Regions from separate parts of the Homo sapiens genome. Here region 2 is linked to region 1. The links are contacts of gene promoters, found by promoter capture Hi-C in blood cells and fetal thymus (Javierre and others, 2016). All regions are on one chromosome and are shown on one strand. The core of a region is centred on a gene start or on the middle of the fragment in contact, and the rest is flanking DNA. Distances in the headings are between cores, read along the strand shown. Region 1 holds the start of TAS2R39 (taste 2 receptor member 39). Region 2 has its middle 12 kb from the start of OR6V1.

Evidence for each region. Contacts are between HindIII fragments. The CHiCAGO score rates a contact against its expected background, and 5 or more counts as called.
Region 2: a contact is called between a fragment that was not itself captured here and the fragment with the promoter of TAS2R39 in region 1, in 2 of 17 cell types (M2 macrophages and monocytes). The highest score is 5.3, in M2 macrophages.

What each region holds. Positions count from the first base shown.
Region 1 is chr7:143,181,590-143,185,131 of GRCh38, reverse strand. It overlaps TAS2R39 (taste 2 receptor member 39), which reads right to left and starts at 1,713. Exons shown (of 1, transcript NM_176881.2): 1 at 697-1,713. The coding sequence starts at 1,713. The coding sequence ends at 697. The HindIII fragment of the contact is 8,536 bases long and covers 1-3,542 here.
Region 2 is chr7:143,062,840-143,066,381 of GRCh38, reverse strand. It overlaps the pseudogene OR6W1P. Among named protein-coding and RNA genes, the nearest start is that of OR6V1, 12 kb to the right of the region's middle. The HindIII fragment of the contact is 3,354 bases long and covers 151-3,504 here.

The sequences.
Region 1 (3,542 bases), core at 464-2,963:
CGTCATTCATGAACAGTGCAGCTGTGAAGAGCCTCTTGCACATATTTTTGCTTATTTATACAAAACCATGCTTAGAAAAAATTCTTAGTAATTTTTAGGATGAAAGGTGTTTTATGCATTATTAATTTTGATAAATAGTTCCACATTATTTTGGTTATATCTTTGAAAGATGGAGACAAAATGCATTTCAAACTTCTGCTCAGAAAACTTCCCAAGTTATCTAAATGTGTTTAAAAGGCATGTGGAGGGAGAAAGAGAGTTGTCAGGAACTAGTTTCAGAACATTCTTCTATTTTGGTGGCTATACAACCCTGCTGCACAGCAGAATCACCTGGAGATCTTAGAAAATTGTGTGAGTTCTAACACTAGAAATTCTGACTTAATAGATCTGAGATTGGGTTTGAACATTGGTATTTTCAAAAATCAACCTAGAGATTCTAATGGGTAGCCAGTGCTTAGAATCACTGCTTTAAACAGAGCAAGGGGAGGTAGAGGGCTCAGGTAAAGAATATGACAGTACCACTAAGATTGTACCCATGAAGCAAAAAAGAAATGATCAATTTCCTATATAAAAAGCCACATCAGGCGAAAAGGGTCAGATGAGGGTTGGAGAAGAAAAGAAGAGAGAAAAGAGAGGTCTAGGTGAGGGAATGGCAGAGCTGGTAAGGCCAGGTCCTGTGGTCTTCTTGGGTGCTGGTCACAGAGTCCACTCTTTTGGGTAAAGATGAAGTCGAAGCTGAAGCCGCTTCCAGGCTCTTCTCAGCCCAGGGTTATCTTGAATCAGTAGAATTGAGTGGCTGGCAGGGTAGGCAGCCATGATGATCTGGCACAAATTATTCCACAGACTGTTGATGTCAAACATGTTGGACAGGTAGATAAACAGAGCAACTGCATTGAAAATGTAGAGAATGAGAAAGTAGCTGATAGCTTTGATGGCCCCCATGTGAGCCTCCATGCTGGGGTCGTTGGACCCTGTGGCATTGCTTCCCATGTGTAGGGTGTGTCTCTTGAGAGAGAGGATCAGCAGGGTGGCTGTCAGGATGAACATGATCAGAGGAGTCACAATCCCCAGGTTAAAGAAAAAAGCCAGACCGACCACATTGATCTCAGACAAGTATGTTTTCTTAGTGGAGTTGGAGGAGTGGATAGGGAAAGAATTGTTACAATACACAGTGCAGATGTTGATGCAGAACATGCTGTGACTGAAGGAAATAAACACGGACAGCCACAGAAGCCAGGGTATCAATCCAGTAATTCTCCACCTCAGTTTGAGGAAAAGGGGGTAGGAGAAATTGGCAATCTTCACAAAGTAGAAGAAACTGAGCCAGGCAGCAAACCACAGGCTACAAAAATTTAAGAATATAAAACTTATTTTGAATGCATAATATACAGCGTCTTCAGAATAAAAACTTAGGGAGGTTGAGCTGATGGTAATTTCTAACATCATGAGGCTTTGGAGAGCTATTCTGGATACACTCAGGAAAACCAGGATCCTGCCACTTGTGGAAACTGCCTTATTTTGAACCCATTCAGCTGCATGTATAGCCATGATGAAACCATTTGCAATGATACCAATGAGGTATTCAGCAAGTAAAACTGCTAAAATTAAGGTGATGAGAAATGGCGACAATTCACTTTCTGCAGGATCGCAGAGTTTAGTCATTCTGAGCTGTTGCTTCTCTTTGGTGTCTGGAGGAAAACATCTCCCTAGCATTTGATGGGCAGACTCTTGATAACTCCCAGTATTGATGTCATAGGAGGAAGCAATTGATGTATCATTTCCAAATTCACTGCATTTGTTTATTTCAGAATTCTTAGCTCTACATCTAGAGATGCAAATGTTGGAAGGATTTGGTTTCTAATCCTCTCTCTATTTTTGAACATGTTGGTAGTGGTTCAATAATGAGGCCCAGGGAAGCGCTTGAGTAGACTCTTTAAAAGCAGCTAACATGGTACTGAGGTCCGTGTTCTTTGGTAGCATCAGTTAATTTGAACATTGGTTAACTGAGTCATCATTTAACTTACTTTCACTTGTGACTGCAGAAAATGATTGAAAATAAAAACTGCTACACACATACACACACACACACGCACTTCTCATTTTGTGCTAAGAAATTTTCAAATGATTTATTTATAATTACTACATTTAAACCTCACAACAACCTTATGAGCATGTGCTTCTATTACCTCCATTTTGCAGATGAAGAAACTAAGGCATACAGAGGTTAAATAACTTGGCCAACATCACACAACTAGAGCGTGATAGAACTGGGATTCAAACCCAAGTCACCTGGTCGCAGAGTTCCTCCTCTTATCCACCATGTTATGCTACCTAGACCTGTGGATTCTTTTGTGTGCCCAAGACTAAATGCAGGGTTGATTCCACTATGACATTTTTTTCCTGGTAGCCTTTTATGTCCCCACCCTCTAAAGAAAAATCAATAAAGCAAGAAGACACTGATTTTTAAGAGATAGGACTCTCTTTTCAAAGTAGATTACTTGAGAGGTAATAAATTTAATTATACATAAAAGATCATACACACACACACACACACACACATATTCACCTTTCATTTTAAGCAAAACTAGGAAAATAAGAGTTGAAGGTAAAACTCCCTAGTTCCTAGCAAGGTAAGCTAGCGAACCTGAGAATAAAAGCAATGTCCCAATTCATCCAATTTTGGAATATTAAAACAAAAAGAAAGGAAAAAAGAATCACTTTTATCTTAAGGAATTTTTTTCTGATTTTAAAACGCAAGCATAGGACACATAATGATAAAATGGACTTTTCATTTCAGGGTAAATTAATTTTTATGAATGTATGTAACTTTAAAATAATGATGAAGTAATAATTCTAATAAAGAGAAAGTTGGTGGGTGAGAAGTCTCAGAAAATCTTTATAACATTTGGTTTTTACTTAAAGCCTTTTAAAAACAAGGCAAGAACTCATAAACGTTTTCTGGCTTGATTAATGATTTTAGATGAGTTGTTACGAATTTTACCATCTCATTTGAAAATCACTATTCCTGAACAAATATTTCCCTTGAATACAGCGTAATAGACAACTGCTCCTCTCTGCTTGTTTCTACCCATTTGCACAAGTAGGCCTGGAGTATCTCAGGACCTCCAGTTTGGTTTTAAAGAGGATTTTTCTTGCCACTGGCTTTCCCCTACTTCTGCTGATCCAGGCTTCCAAGAGTGGGAGGAGAAACAGGACATGGTCCCTTCAGAGGCTGTTGCGTCTTTCCTCATTTGATTTGTTTATCCATGTATCCCACTCTGAGCCCCTAGCCCATGCCAGACACCCAGGAGGCAGTACATAGATACTTGCTGGGTTGATATATGGCCTTAGTGAAGACCTTCAGCTCAGAGAAGCTCTTTATGAGAGACATGAGGAGGAATGGCAGTTCCACGTCTCCTCAAATTTGAAAATCTGCAGGTCCTATGCCTAAATCAAGTGTCAGAGCATAAACAGTGAGGTTCAGTGAGAACACAGCAGACTGTAGAGAACATCTGTGTAAGAAACACTGGTGGGTGACAGAG
Region 2 (3,542 bases), core at 578-3,077, 120 kb after region 1:
AAGATGAAAAAAGAGCCCTGACACTGAGAAACTAGGAATCCAGGATTTGGAATCTGACTGTACACAATTATAATGCAAGGCAGATCTTGTTAACTTTCCTGATTGGGAACTCCAGGCAGGATGACTTCACATCTGGATGAGGATGAAGCTTCATAAAGGAGGGGACATTTGAGATAGTCCCTGGTGGGTGATTAAGAATTTGCCAGGCAAAGATGGCAGAACAAAGTATTCTAAGCACAGGAATAAAAAGGGAAGTGTGTGAAGGCAAAGTGGAATTAACTTATGGAGAATATCAAGGGTTCAGTTCAGTGGTATCACAAAGTGTGTGACAAGGAGGTGGGGGTGAAGCTATGGGGGGTGGTGAATGGGGAGAGTCATGTAGGGCAGGAGTTGCCAGGGAGAATCTGTGCTTGATTTGACTGAAAAAGGAAGAGATTATTGTTGTTAATTTTTTTATCACTAAAATAATATATGAAGAGAATTCAAATTTAAATGAAGAGAATTTGGAAATGAATGTGGACATATAGAAGAACAGAGGGTACAAGGTTTCAGTTGGGCAGGAAGAATAAGTTCTAGCGAACTAATGTTCAGCATGGGGATTACAGGTAATGATACTGTATTGTATACTTGACATTTGCTAAGAGGGTAGATCTTAGGTCATCTCACTACATGTGAAAAATGGTAACTATATGAAGAGATGGATATATTAATTAGCTTGACTGTCGTAATAAGTTTACTATGTATATTTCTATCCAAACCTCATGATATACATTTCATATGGTTTGGCTGTGTCCCCACGCAAATCTCATCTTGAATTGTAGTTCCCATAATCCCCACATGTTGTGGGAGGGACCCAGTGGGAGGTAATTGACTCATGGGGGTGGTTACCTCCATGCTGTTCTCGTGATAGAGAGTAAGTTCTCACGAGATCTGATAGTTTTATAAGGGGCTTTTTCACTCCTGTGCTCTGCACTTCTCCTTGCTGCTGCCATGTGAAGAAGGACGTGTTTGCTCCCCCTTCGGCCATGATCATAGGTTTCCTGAAGCCTCCCCAGCCATGCCAAACTGTCAGTCAATTAAACCTCTTTTCTTTATAAATTACCCAGTCTTGGGTGTGTCCTTATAGCAGCGTGAGAACAGACTAATACAACAGTTTAAATATGTATAATTTCAATACAAGATTTTTAAAAGTAAACTCCTATAACCCACACCCAGATATAGCCATTGTTAATATTTTAAAATGCATCCTTTTACTCTTTTTCTGGATGAAGATAGATGGCTAGCTAGTTTGATTGATTTTGAAAGTAATTATAAATGAAATCTCATTGTTACAGGTTATTTTTATTTATTTATTTATTTTTGAGATAGAGTGTTGCTCTTGTTGCCCAGGCTGGAGTGCAATGGCATGATCTCAGCTCACTGCAACCTCCACCTCCTAGATTCAAGCGATTCTTCTGCCTCAGCCTCCTGGGTAGCTGGGATTACAGGCACACACCACCACACTCGGCTAATTTTGTATTTTTAGTAGAGATGGGGTTTCTCCATGTTGGCCACGATGGTCTCGAACTCCCGACCTCAGATGATCCACCCGCCCTCAGCCTCCCAAAGTGCTGGGATTACAGGCGTGAGCCACCATGCCCGGCCTTGTTACAGATTATTAAAAACAGTTGATTGACACAATAACTTAAGAAAATAAAATATAATAGCAGCATGGTGCCTGGATAGGTTGGTGATTGAGCAATCTACCAATAAAAAAAAAATTAAGAGTGTTGTTGCAATGGTTAAGAGGAAACAGATCCTTGAACTAGGGTGGTGGATATGGATAAACAAAGGAGGGCTAGATGCTTCCAGTTTCCAGCCCAGATGACTGGGGAATTGGGAGCCATAAACATGGCCTTTGCGGGAGGGGAGGACTAGGTGTGTATCTTTAGATGTGTTGAATGTGTGGTGGTGGTCAATCTGGTGGTTAGAGATGTGGGCCGGGACTCAGAGGAGGACAAAATCCAGATTTGAAATTCATTTACATTTTAAAGATTGCTTTGGTTAAAGAAGGTGAGATTTCTGAAGGAGAAAATAGAGAATTTTTTTAAACAAAGATAAGAAAAGAAATGTGGGGTCATCCATGTTTAGAAAATGGCAGAAAGACAGGGAGCTAGAGAAGGAGACAGACGAGGGAACCCAGGATGGTAGGAGAAATTCAAGAGTGCAGGGTCCTTGCAGTCAAGGGTGGAAGTCACTTCAAAAACGGGTTATTTGTAGCCTGAAATGTTATAGAGAAGAAAATGTTATAGAGAAGAAAAGAGGATGAAGATTCAGCAAAAAAGATGGAAGGAAATAATGTGTAAGGTATCTAGCGCATCTTCTGGCACAGGGAAAGAACAGTAAATATCAGCTATTATTTGAACAACAGACCATTACATTTGGCAGTTAGGAAGTGTTTACCCCTTCATCCTCAGACCCAGCCAAATGTCTTGCACAGAGTTGGAGCTTATTAAGTGTGTTGTACAATATAATCAATGAGTAGAAGACAGAAGAGGAAGAGCTTAAGAATGGTGATAATGTAGAGGTGGCCAAGTCATAAATCTGCTCATCCCAGCCAGTAATCCATTCCTCGCCCCAGGGAAACTCCTGCCTTTTGGGAATGTGTCTCCTGGGGTCAACTGTGCACACAGGCTAGTGTGCATGGGGAGCCAGGCCAGCACTATGGGGACCTGATTGAGAGAGAGGTTGATGGCAATCTCCTGCTAACAGTTCTCAACCTCTCACAGGTGTCACATAGAATGGGCATCAAGTGCAATGGGTAACTACAGCATTGTCAGGGAGTTTGTGCTCCTGGGATTTTCTTTTTTTTTTTTTTTTTTAATTGATCATTCTTGGGTGTTTCTCGTGGAGGGGGATTTGGCAGGGTCATAGGACAATAGTGGAGGGAAGGTCAGCAGATAAACAAGTGAACAAAGGTCTCTGGTTTTCCTAGGCAGAGGAGCTCCTTGGATTTTCTTATCTCCATGAGTTCCAGGTTCTGCTGTTTGCTCTGATCCTGTTGATATATGTGCTGATGCTGCTGGGCAACCTGGCCATCATCAGCTTCATTTGCCTTGATTCCCGCCTTCACTCACCCATGTACTTCTTCCTCTGCAACTTCTCCCTCATGGAGATGGTGGTCACCTCCACTGTGGTACATAGGATGCTGGCAGACCTGCTATCCACTCACAAGACCATGTCCCTGGCCAAATGCCTAACCCAGTCTTTCTTTTACTTCTCCCTGGGCTCTGCCAACTTCCTGATACTCATGGTCATGGCCTTTGATCGCTACGTGGCCATCTGCCACCCCCTGCGCTACCCAACCATCACGAATGGTCCAGTGTGTGTGAAGCTGGTGGTGGCCTGTTGGGTGGTTGGTTTCCTCTCCATTGTCTCTCCCACACTGCAGAAAACACGACTCTGGTTCTGTGGCCCTAACATCATCGGCCACTACTTCTGTGACTCTGCCCCGCTGCTCAAGCTTGCCTGCTCTGACACCCGCCACATTGAGCGCATGGACC